Regions from separate parts of the Homo sapiens genome. Here all the other regions are linked to region 4. The links are contacts of gene promoters, found by promoter capture Hi-C in blood cells and fetal thymus (Javierre and others, 2016). All regions are on one chromosome and are shown on one strand. Each heading gives the region's core, a stretch centred on a gene start or on the middle of the fragment in contact. The rest is flanking DNA. Distances are from core to core; before and after follow the strand shown.

Region 1 (3,257 bases), core at 227-2,726, 770 kb before region 4:
GAGCAGGGAGGGACCCTGGCTGACTCTGGAGAGGCTGCTCTGAGGCCCAAGTCAACAAGAGGCTATGGCTGTGCAGAAGGAACAGCGCGGCGGTGACCACTGCCCAGCCTGGACAATTCCCAGGGCTCCACACATCTCTCGGTCACTGCGACCACCAGTATTATCAGATCCAACCGTTGCACGTGCAGGCGTGACTTTCTGGGTGCCTGAGTGATGGAGACAGAGACAGGCCCAAGAGTCTGTGAGTGCAGATACACAAAAGGCAACAGCAGGCTGGGCCGCCGAACTGGGCCAGGATGGACTGAGAATCCTCAGGTGGGACAAGGATCCCAATTATTCACATTTCCTGGTCCCTTCTGTCCCCACCCCATGAGAGAGGCGCCCCCGCCAGAAATATGTGTTCCCCTCCTTTTGCAGCTGGGAAAACAACCGAATGTCCTGGCGCTGCTTTCTAGAACATGTTCAGGTCTCCCAGAGCCCAGTGGCCTGAGATTCACTGGGCAGCAGGTGGCCGCCTCTCCCCAGAGCCCTTCAGTCTGGAAGTCCAAGCACAACCCTGGCGTCCAGCTCCCCTGCCACCAGGATCCAGGTTACCAGAGGCCGTCCGGGGATCTCCGGCAGCGTAGGAGGGCGGGCCCGGGCTGCAGCAGTCACGAAAACTCCGCCGGCGGCGCCCGAGGAGTTGCTAGGGGAATCTGCTCCGCCTCTAACCCGGCACACGCAGGCCCACCTGCTTCCAGCATGCCGGGACAGTTCACTGAGAGAACCGCCCCCACCGCGGAGGCACCGAGGGTCCGGCTCGCTTATGCCCACGCAGCCGGCTAGACCTTCTGTGGGGGCTCTGCTTTCTCCGCGTTACACCACCCCGACCCCACAAGGCCACGAGGAAAGTAAATGAGGCCTCAGCCCGTCCCCAGACCCCCTCCCCTAAGTGTCCACCTTTGCGCCTAGGACCCCGCGTGGGCCAAGCCGGCCTTCTCCGCTTGGACCCCGCCGGGCCTACCTGCCTTGCGCAGCAGACCGATTTGCGAGCCGTTGAGGGCCATGTAGTCGCAGTCGGTGACGACCCGCACTCGCACCCCACGCTGGTGCAGCAACTGCACGGCGCGGCCCAGCTGCGGGCTGGAGAAGGCGAACAGGCAGAGATCCAGGCTGGCGCGGGCGGCCAGCAGGGCACGCAGCAGGCGGCTTAGCGCGCTCTCGCCGTGGGGCAGGCCGCACGGGCAGCCCTCGGGGAGCTCGGCCAGCTCCGCGCCCGGAGCCCGCAGCAGGGCCTCGGTACAGGTCACCTGAGACGGGAAGAACAGCGCCTCGCGCCGCGGCCGCCGCCGCCTGGACCGCAGCCAGCGCAGCACCCAAGGCAGCGCCTCCAGAGTCAGAGCCAGGCCCACAGCCGCCGCGGCCGCCACCTGCCAACTCAACCGTCCCATGCCGCCGCTAATCCGGGACCCACAGCCACGCCGCCGCAGCGGAGTCTGCGCGCCCCCAGCCCTAGACCGCCAGGCCACGCCCCCGTCACGCGCCGCCAGCGGCCATGTGCCAGGCCACGCCCAGCCCCCCATGGCCACGCGCCAGGCCACGCCCTATCACGTCCTGCCAATTGCCACGCACCAGGCCACGCCCCCGTCACGCAGCGCCAACGGCCACGTGCCAGGCCACGTGCCAGGCCACGCCCAGCACCCATGGCCACACGCCAGGCCACGCCCCCGTCACGCCCCACCAACGGCCACGTGCAAGGTCACGCCCTCAGCCCCCGAGGGCCACGCGCTAGGCCGCGCCATGCCCCCACAACTGTCACGCACCAAGCTGAACCCACGCCTCCCATCAGCCCGCCCCCAACCCTCAACAGGTGACCACGCCTCCCTCCACGCGCCAGGCCACGCCCCCTGCCACAGACACCCTCCACCCCCCAACGCCAGGCTGTGCCCCCCATTTTCCTTCCAGCCAGGCGCTCGGCCACGCCCTCCAGGTTCCACCTCCCACCACGTGCCAAGCCACGTCCCCAAGCCCGCGCCACCAGGCAGCACCTGCACACCCGCGGGCCACGGGCCCTAGCACACCCGTCACCTGCCCAGGCCAGAGACCGCTCTCCGCGCTAGAAGCCACAGCAACCCCGGCTTTCCTCGCATGGAGCACAGCAGAGCTGCTCTGGAAATGTGGGGTCACACCTTCACTGTCTTCTCGGGAGCAGCTAGGCTGGGCTGGGGAATGACCTGGGAACACAGATAATCAGGGAATCAACACAGCTGGAGGCAGCATTGGAACCCAGCATACTGGAGGCGGTGTCGGCCCAGAGGTTTTTTCCTAGCCCAAGAGGTTTTTTCCAGCCGGCGTTGTTGGAAGGCCTGCCCTGCTTTAAGCATAAACAGAGGAAGAGACTAAGGCAGCCGAGGGCACTGGGCCGGGGGCATAGGGAAACGGGGCAATGTGGTGGTCTGGGCTGGATCCTGGAACCGAAAGAAGACATTCACGGAAAAACTGGTGAGAGCCAAATAAAGTCTGGAGCTTAATCGCATTGTACCAATGTCAGTTTCTTAGCTTTGACAAATGTATGAAAGGAATGTAAAAGGTTAACAAAGGAAGCTGCGTGGGGGTAAATGGATCTCTCTGTTCTATATTCGAAACTTTTCTGTAAAGCAAATTATTCTAAATTAAAAGTTTATTAAAATATTAAACTTGCACCTTCCATATGATCCAGCTATCCCACTCCTAGGAGAAAGGGCGGGATCCATTAACACAAGCACGTGTCCTGGCAGGCGTATGTGCCTAGAACAACCCAAAAAGGCGTCAGCAGGTAAACAGGTAAATAAGCTTTTGTATATCTGTACAAGGGAATGCTATTTAGCAATAAAATAGAATGAAGTGGCCTGGCACGGTGGTTCATGCCTGTTATCCCAGAACTTTGGGAGGCTGAGGCAGGAGGACAGCTTGAGTTCGGGAATTCGAAACCAGCTTGGCCAACATGGTGAAACACTGTCTCTACCAAAAAATACAAAAATTAGCTGAGTGCGCTGACGTGCCTGTGATCCCAGCTACTCGGGAGGCTGAGGTGGGAGAATCGCTTGAGCTCTGGAGACTAAGGTTGCAGTGAGCCAAGATCATGCCATTGCACTCCAGCCTGGGTGACACAGCAAGACCCTATCCCCCCCCCACCAAAAAAAAAAAAAAACAGTACTCACATGTGCTACGACGTGGATGAATTTCATTAATATTGAGTGGGAAAAGCCAGACAAAAAGAGTACATACTGTATGATTCC
Region 2 (2,864 bases), core at 78-2,577, 690 kb before region 4:
GAACCAAACAACCTGGAAAGTGCGAGTAAAATCATCACAATTCTACCCCTAGAAATGGAGTCCTGGCCGGGCGCAGTGGCTCACGCCTGTAATCCTAGCACTTTGGGAGGCCGAGGTGGGCGGATCACTTCAGGTGAGGAGTTCGAAACCAGCTTGGCCAACATGGTAAAAACCCCATCTCTATTAAAAATACGAAAAAATTAGCCGCGTGGGCTGGCCGCGGTGGCTCATGCCTGTAATCCCAGCACTTTGGGAGGCCGAGGCCAGTGGATCACCTGAGATCAAGGTTCGAGACCAGCCAGGCCAACATGGTGAAACCCTGTCTCTACTAAAAATACAAAAATTAGCCGGGCAGGCGCCTGTAATCCCAGCTACTCGGGAGGCTGAGACAGGAGAATCGCTTGAACCTCGAAGGCGAAGGTTGAGGTGAGCCGAGACCGCGCCACTGCACTCCAGCCTGGGAGACAGTGAGACTCCGTCTCAAAAAAAAAAAAAGCCGTGTGAGCTGGCGGGCGCCTGTAATCTCAGCTACTCGGGAGGCTGAGACAGGAGAATCGCTTGAAGCCGGGAGGCTGAGGTTGCAGTGAGCCGAGATCGCGCCACTGCACTCCAGCCTCGGCTAAAAAAAAACAAAGAAGAAGAAATGGAGTCCTACGAGCGAGAGCTTCCGCAGCATTCTGTAGGACCAAAATAGGCGCACAGGTTCCCGAGCGTGCGCCGCCTGGCAGCGGAGGAGCTGGCAGAGGCGAGCCATAGAGCCAAGACACCCAGAACGGACTCGCCTCCCGCCCGCTCCCGGCGGCCTAGTCAGCAAGCTGCGGATCGGCGGCAAAGATGACATGGCGGTGCGCCAATCACCGAAGGCAAGAGAGACAGAAGGAACCAATAGTCGCCCGAGATGGCTCCTGGCGGAAGTCACGCCCCCAAACTGTCAAGCAAAGCGCCCGGTGGAAGGGGCCCAGGCCGGGGGGAGGGGGCTCCCGGCGGCCCGAGGGAGGGGAGGCCGGCCGGCGAGGACAGCGGAGCGCGAGGGGGCTGCCTACACTCGGCCGCGCTCGATCCTGCCCTGATCTAAACGCCGCAACCCCAAGCCCGGCCCCGGAGAAGAGTCTCAGGACTAAAAGGGCTGTTCCAGCCGTCCGTGCTGGCGCCTGGGGATCCAGGCCAGTTCCCGGTACCCGCCCATGCCCAGCCCGGCGGCCTAGGGCGTTACCTTGAGCTGAGAGCTGTCGGACACTGTTCACGAACTGCTCCAGGGCAGACGCCATGTTTTCCCCCGGGCGGCCCGAGCGGCGAAGGCAGCACGCGCGGGAAAAGGCTGCCGCTCTGGGAGGAGGGGCCGCGGCGATCCACCTGAGGTCCTCGCGAGCGGCGACGTCACTTCCGCTGGTTCAAGCACCGCGAGACTATACCTAGCTGCCCACCCGTTACTGTTTCCATGGAAACAGCCTGAATTCGCCGTAGCCGGAAATTAGTGTTCCATAGTCCCCTGCATCTTTATTCACTGCACTTCTGAAATCCCTCCGCAGGTTAAATGGGGATAGTGGGCAAAAGAAGGAAGGAAACTCATAATTAAGCAAGTATTTTCTGGTTCTGGATTTTGCTAGAGAGGCCCTGCGGTTTTCCACCTGGACAGATACTTCAATGAAGCACAACTTCGTTGCCACGTCTCCCGTGAGGTTTTCCCCGTGATATTAGACTCTGGAGCCAAGCAGCCTGGGTTCAACTGCCTTTTCTACCACTTAGTAGCTGTGTGACGTTGAGCGGGTCACTTGACTGTCGTGTGCATTGTTTTCCCCATCTGTAAAATCTTAGTGTCCTTAACCACGTAAAACACTTAGGACAGTGCATAGGACGTAGGGAGAACTATAGTTATTCATTCAAGGTGTACGTTGAATGAATCGATCCCTTCCCTGCAAAAAATAAATAAATAAGTAACACCACACACAGAAAGTGAATTGATTTTTCCCATCTGGGATTGATGTCTCCCTCCTCCGCTTGTCGCCTAAAGCACTTTGTTCTTCTCATGTTGCACTTCTACTCTGTTACAGAAATGTGTCTCTATAGTCCATGTGATATCTGTAAACCAAAAATAAAAGTCTAAGCCCCCCAACTGACTGGTGGACCCTATCTGAAGCCAAGGACATTCCAATTTATCCTGAAAAACTAGTTCAGGCCATGATGGGAAGTGGTAGTCAGACATGCCTCACAAACATCAACACAGAGACCTTAAGACTGGTAGACTCAAGACTGATAAGAAATATTTACAATCTATTCTGTCTGAATAGCAGGCTACCTGGAAGCCTCATCTGCATGATAAAACCTTGGTCTCCACAACCCCTTATAATCATAACCCAGATATTTCTTTCTATTTACTTCCAGGTCTTTAGATAATAACTCTTTCAACCAATTACCAATCAAAAAATCTTTAAGTCTACCTATAAGGTAGAAGCCCCCCACTGCCCCGAGTTAGCCCGTCTTTCCGATCCTAACCAACGTACATCTTACATGTATTGATCGATGACTCATGTCTCCCTAAAATGTATAAAACCAAACTGTACCCGCACCTTGGGCACATGTCCTGAGGAGCTCCTGAGGCCGTGTTATCATCGCATCCTTCACCTTGGCAATATAAACTTTCTCGATTGAGACTGGTCTCAGATACTTTTGGTTTACGGATCCATTGCTTCTAACTGGCATGGAGTTCCTTAAGGTCAAGCATTTCTCTTACTAACCTTGGTTCCCCTTTAGGGCCCAGCATAGGATTTGCTGCATAGTAGGGACTGAGAAAATAAACATGCATTTTAAAATTTTATCCAACATATGTTTACTGACACTTACAATGTGTTGTACCAGGCACTAGA
Region 3 (2,885 bases), core at 157-2,656, 740 kb before region 4:
ACCAGGTGTTTGCTGAAGAAAACAAACTGGTTTGAGTGTGTCTCACGAGTCTGTTTCCAACAAGCTTTCCAGAACCCACATAGGAAGCCGAAATGCCCTGGCTGACAGTCTCTTCATCAACATATCCAAAGACAGTATTCAAATTCCCTGATGTGGTAGAGTGTCTGTTCATGTCCCCCTCCCACAATGGCTGAGTCCCAGACCTGGACAGTGACCTCACCACCACCCGTGGTGCGCCCTGGCCCTATTTCAACCCTACTTCCTATGGTGTTCTCATAGCACCGTGGAGAATTAAAGAGGCCACTAAGTAAGGGCACTCTAAATAAACAAAGCACTATAACGGATCTTAACCAGCAGTGGACACACAGCTTCTATAACTAGTCTCCCACTGGGGAGCCTCATTAAGTTAGCAGCTGGGATCCCAACAAGCCCAGGGTGAAAAGTTCTGCAGGGGATGACTGCCAGTTCAGATCCACTCTCACTGTGGCTCTATTTCCACCGTTTCCCTGGATTTCCATTCACAGAGCTCCCTGACATAGGACACTAGAAGGGCAAACGCAGTGTCACCTGCCACTATTACTCAATTACTTGATGACCACGGTGATAATCTGGCACTAAACTGGCTGTGGCCAAAGGCTAGAGAGCCAGAACCTACTTCCAGCAAGCTCCTCCTTGCCCTGTGTCCCCACTTGAAGAGACTGCTAGTGACCACACCTTGGACTTCAATCCACAAGCCAATCCATTCTTTCCAGGAGACAAGGACGCGACTGACAGTACTCTCAACTGGAGAGAAGCGCGGTCTTCCACCCTCCCTGGAGGACACGGTGCTACCCTATTAGCGCATCAGAGGACCCTCCTGAACGCCAAACTGGGAGAAGAGGATGACACACACCCTCTCCTCCAAACAGAGCGAAGACAAAACCTGGGAGAAGGGAAGGCAAACAGTCCCGTTTCATGGCAACATCAAATGAGATCACAGTCCTCATCCCCATAGACTTGGTTAATGGGCGTGCCCCCAACCTATCTTCAAATCTCAGGGTCTCGGCGACGCCCTGGACTCTGGCCCTAAACCCTCCCCCATTACTCGTCCACCTGGGACCAACGAAAACTCGGACATGCCCCTCCGCCAACCCCTCAGACCCCCGCCTACCTGCTCCCCAAATCGAGGCCCGCGGGACACCTGGACTCGGCAGCCGGGGTCCCGCTCTGGGTCCCAGCCCCGCCCCTGACTGCGCTGGGTAGGTGGTCGCTGCGGGACCCGGACCGGCGGAATCACACCCAGAGCCCCCAAGCCCACGGCAGGGATGTCACCCGGGGTGGCGAGGCTCTCAAGCCCGGGTTCAGGCTCTCAGGGGAGCTGGCAGAACCAGGAGCGACCACACTCACTCGCGGTCCCGCAGCCCCGCCGACACCCAGGCGCGTGACTCCCTGAGCCGTACCACCACCCAACACTGCGGTGGGGGTGCGGGAGCCGTCCGAGCGCGTCCTGCACCGCGAGGAGAGCCGGGCCTCCCTAGCTCTCGCAAGCCCAGGAACACAGTCCGAGTCCTACAACTCCGAGGTCTGACTGGGAAGCAGGGGCCGCTGCCCGACAATTACCCTTTTCCACCGCCCCTATTCCGGTGCCCCCCTCTGGGAAGTTCCGAATGGTTCAGACCGCACCAGCTGGGGATGCTGGGGGAAACCATTTCATTAAGCGCGGGAGTATGCTGAAACTTAAAAATCATTTTAAAAAGAGATTTGAGGGTAAATATAGCCAACCTAAGGCTTCCTGTCCACATAAAAGAGAAAAATAAAGAAAAAACGTTATAAGAGGTTGGCAGGCTTTTTTTTTTTGCTTCACCAATGGTTTTTATTAAATTGCTGATGGAACCCGTCCTCTCCCTACATTGAGAGTATGGAAGGTGCGGGAGACGGCCGTCACGTGACGCGGAGAAGGCGCGGCGCCCGTGGGAGGTTGGTTGCAGAACTCGGAACCGCTGTGCGCGCGCATGTGTGGGATTCGGTCTTCCTCCCTCAGTGGGTCTTTTTTAAAAATGTGAAAATCAGTTTTTGAATAATATTCTTTTTTTGAGACAGAGTTTCGCTTTCGCTCTTGTTGCCCAGGCTGGAGTCCAGTGGCGCGACCTCGCCTTACTGCAACCTCCGCTTCCCGGGTTCAAGCGATTCTCCTGCCTCAGCCTCCCGAGTAGCTGGGGACTACAGGCGTCCGCCACCACGCCTGGCTAATTTTTTGTATTTTTGCAGAGACGGGTTTTCACCCTTTTGGCCAGGCTGGTCTTGAACTCCTAACCTCAGGTGATCCACCAGCCTCGGCCTCCCAAAGTGCTGGGATTACAGGCGTGAGCCACCGCGCCCGGCCTGAATAATATTTTTTAAAACTAGAGCGCCCATTACTAAATTTAGCTACTTAGAAGTTAATTGTAAAGCCATTAGTTTGTGATGTAGTGTGGGTCCTTCCAGTGAAGACCGGAGAGAGATGGGAATCAGAGCCTGACCCGCCTGTGCGCGCTGCCCCCTGAGGTGTGGCTGCCCCCTGAGGTGTGGCCGCCCCGGAGCCTTCCGCCGCGGCCGAGGCTATGGTTGCCGCAGAGTCTCCAGAATGTGCTCACCAGGAATAGAATAGAAAAGTGGGTGGTTGTGTTTTTGAAATCAGAAGTCACTTATTTTTTTCTCTTTAAATTTCCATGTTCTGGTCGGGCGCGGTGGCTCACGCCTATAATATCCCAACACTTTGGGAGGCCGAGGTGGGCGGATTACGAGGTAAAGAGATGGAGACCATCCTGGCCAACAGGTGAAACCCCCTCTCTACTAAGAATACAAAAAAAATTAGCTGGGCGTGGTGGCACACGCCTGTAGTCCCAGCTACTCTGGTGGCTGAGGCA
Region 4 (2,847 bases), core at 348-2,847:
AATAAACAAATCACTACTGCTGAAATCAGGCCCATAAGAACACCAAAGATCCTGGCTCATAAAAGACGTTTTACCAGTCCTTCAACCAACCAGGAGGAATCCAGTTTTCAAACAAACTAATCAGCATTCTTGACTGATCAAGTGGCATAAGCCACTGCCTTGGGTAAAAAGGCAAGTTGCTTTCTTAGTAAGGAAGTCCCATATGGTGGCCATTTCAGTATTCCTTTACCTACACTTTGGGCTTTCCTTATCCATGATTCTGGCCATCTCTGGTGTCCCCAGGTGTCCACATCCCCCCTATAGGATTAACAGATAATGCTGAGTACCATTCTCTCTACATTGCCAACAAAAGATTTCAGCTTTGGTAAACTTAATATGAGGTGGGGGAGGAAGCAACAGTCAATGTGCAGAGTACTACAAAGAATATCAAAACTTGAGAACTTTAAGGGATCTATCACATCTCATCTCCAAACACTTTGACAGACAGGGGAACTTCAAACCAGAAAGGGCACAAGGTCATATGGAGTCACTGACAAAACCACTGCTAGAGTCCAGGCTTCCATGATTCCCAGTCCAGGGCTCTTATCATTAAATAACACAGCCTCCCTTCTTTCCTGGGAGGCACTGCAGGCATGCCATCCCCCTGCCAAGATAATCACCCTCCAAGAGCCCCTCCTCCTATCCCAGTCCCTCCTACAGCACAGCTGAGTTGCAGCTCAAATTAGCAAGTCCCGGAGCAGGGGGCATTTCTGGGAGGGTGCCCAGTCTGAGGGTTGCTGGTACCGAAGAGGAGGGACAAAGATGGAGAAGAAGGTGACATCCCACAAAGGGTTTGGGAGAACTGGGTCCTTGGGGCAGTGGCAGTGAGCCTGCTGGGCTGGATAAAGACACATGCAGTGGCATCTCCCAAAGCGCATTGGGGAAGCAGACCAGCAGTTGGCACCACCTCTAGCAGCAAAAGGAAGGGCTGAGCCTTGATGGGCAGGGAAGCCTGGGGCATCTCCGAGTCCAAGTTGGGCCTCAGGGGTGCCTCCTGGCAGAGTGGCACTGGCGCGCCCGTGAGGTGGCACCAGTGCCCGGGAGGAGGCCCGAGGACACAGATGCCCTGCCTGCCCGTGGGATAGCACCGGCACCCGGCGAAGGCCCAGCCCCCCCGGGAGGTGGCACCGGCGCCCGGCGAACGCCCGACGACCAGGATGCCCAACCCGCCCGTGAGGTGGCACCGACGCCCAGTGAAGGCCAGACGACCAGGATGCCCAGCCCGCCCGTGAGGTGGCACAAGCGCCCGGCAAAGGCCCGACGACCAGGATGCCCAGCCCGCTCGTGGAGTGGCACCCGCGGCTGGCGGAGGCCCAGCCCGCTCGTGAAGTGGCACCGGCGCCCGGCGGAGGCCCGCGGTCCTCACCAGCCGGATCAGCGGCCGCCGTTGCCCAGCCTCCTGCCCCACACGCGGCCTTACCGAGGCACTGCCCCACTGGTGTGCTGAACGGGTTCCCCAGGAGGAACTCCATCTTGGGTGGACAACACGCAGCGGCCCGGGCCCCCTGTCTGCCACCTAGGCCTCCGCTGTAACCCGCCGGACTCCCGTCCTGACTGACACTTGCCCCCTCCCCACTCTCTGGAACGCCGAGCTTAGGGCCTTTGGCCCCGCCCCCTTGCCGCGTCTCTATTGGGGGACACCTACGAAGCCCGCCTCCTATTGGTCGTTACACCTCTGTCAGCAAAGCCCCCACCCACCCCGCAGCGTCCGATTGGGCGGAGGAGCGAGCTAGGTCACCGGAGTCCCTGTCAGCCGTGGCGGCACCTCCCCTGGCCCGCCCCCAAAGGGGAAGCTGCGCATTTTGATTCCTCTGTATATTGGTCAATCTAAAGGATTCTTACTATTATTGGACAAAAGACGAGTCAATCACGCAAATGGACGGAACAGAGGTGAATCTAGGAATATCCCCGCCCATAGAAAGTACTGATTGGAGAAACATTTGTTTTCTCTACGGCTGGTTGGTGTAAGGAGTGTTTCACCACACGGAGATGTGGTCACGTGACTTGTCAACTTTCACCCAGGATGTCTCCCTTCTGACTTCCCCTTAGCAACCAAGTCGCGGCGCTTGGTTCCCCAGCAACCGGGAGACGCGTCTGCTGCGTGGAACCGCCGAGTTCCCAGCGCTTGAGAAGGTGAGACCTGGGAGCTGAGGCTCCCGGAGGACTTGCAGGGACAGATAGTGCCCGACGTAACTCTTTCCTGTGACCTTTTTCTCGGAGAACGCCGGCCCGGCCCTTCTCATTTATAAAATGAGCACGTAGGTCCTCTCCCAGCCACTTTACAGTCGTGTGAGACAGCCAAGACACTTTAGTCCTGGGCTTGTCAAGCTTTTGAATAAAAAAAAAAAAAAATACTAAGGAAGCATTTCCCGAGGGAGCAGGGCCAGAATGGATTTTTAAGGGGTTCCGTCTTCCAGCCTCCTTTCATAGAAAGAGAGGTACCCGGTCCACTGATAACTTTTCCCAGAATTTAGCCATCATAACTGACCTCATAACTATCAAATGATTTCATCTTGGTACTGTATATACCGCTTTGGATGTGAATACGGCTACTCAAGTTCTGTATCCGTCTCTGTCAGTAACTCATTGTACGACTTTGGACAAGTTCCTTTACCTCCCTGGAGCCTCAGGTTCCCTAGCTGGGAAATAAGGGCATTAGGACTCCCTTTTTATGGCCTCCGGAGCTTACATGTACTTAAATAATGCATGTGCACTGAGCACACAGTAAGCATTCAGTAAGTGATTGATTTTATTCTTTTTTAAGAAAAATTTTGTTCATTATTTATTTATTTATTTATTTTTTATTTT

Evidence for each region. Contacts are between HindIII fragments. The CHiCAGO score rates a contact against its expected background, and 5 or more counts as called.
Region 1: a contact is called between the fragment with the promoter of PLD6 here and the fragment with the promoter of TOM1L2 in region 4, in 2 of 17 cell types (naive CD8 T cells and total CD8 T cells). The highest score is 8.7, in naive CD8 T cells.
Region 2: a contact is called between the fragment with the promoter of COPS3 here and the fragment with the promoter of TOM1L2 in region 4, in 7 of 17 cell types (total CD8 T cells, activated CD4 T cells, naive CD4 T cells and 4 more). The highest score is 8.4, in total CD8 T cells.
Region 3: a contact is called between the fragment with the promoter of FLCN here and the fragment with the promoter of TOM1L2 in region 4, in 8 of 17 cell types (fetal thymus, activated CD4 T cells, erythroblasts and 5 more). The highest score is 10.3, in fetal thymus.

The regions. Positions count from the first base shown.
Region 1 is chr17:17,204,857-17,208,113 of GRCh38, forward strand. PLD6 (phospholipase D family member 6) reads right to left here and starts at 1,477. Exons shown (of 2, transcript NM_178836.4): 1 at 1,004-1,477. The coding sequence starts at 1,430. RefSeq lists enhancers at 496-615, 1,671-2,510 and silencers at 1,136-1,255, 1,276-1,325, 1,446-1,695, 1,736-1,785. The HindIII fragment of the contact is 11,264 bases long and covers 1-2,809 here.
Region 2 is chr17:17,279,919-17,282,782 of GRCh38, forward strand. COPS3 (COP9 signalosome subunit 3) reads right to left here and starts at 1,328. Exons shown (of 12, transcript NM_003653.4): 1 at 1,214-1,328. The coding sequence starts at 1,268. RefSeq lists enhancers at 716-775, 1,426-1,525 and a silencer at 966-1,205. The HindIII fragment of the contact is 7,073 bases long and covers 1-2,864 here.
Region 3 is chr17:17,235,762-17,238,646 of GRCh38, forward strand. It overlaps FLCN (folliculin), which reads right to left and starts at 1,407. Exons shown (of 14, transcript NM_144997.7): 1 at 1,151-1,407. RefSeq lists an enhancer at 1,624-1,733 and a silencer at 2,168-2,353. The HindIII fragment of the contact is 3,806 bases long and covers 63-2,885 here.
Region 4 is chr17:17,970,803-17,973,649 of GRCh38, forward strand. TOM1L2 (target of myb1 like 2 membrane trafficking protein) reads right to left here and starts at 1,598. Exons shown (of 15, transcript NM_001082968.2): 1 at 1,460-1,598. The coding sequence starts at 1,511. DRC3 (dynein regulatory complex subunit 3) reads left to right here and starts at 2,060. Exons shown (of 14, transcript NM_031294.4): 1 at 2,060-2,172. RefSeq lists enhancers at 1,091-1,660, 2,032-2,351 and a silencer at 1,302-1,351. The HindIII fragment of the contact is 5,656 bases long and covers 1-2,365 here.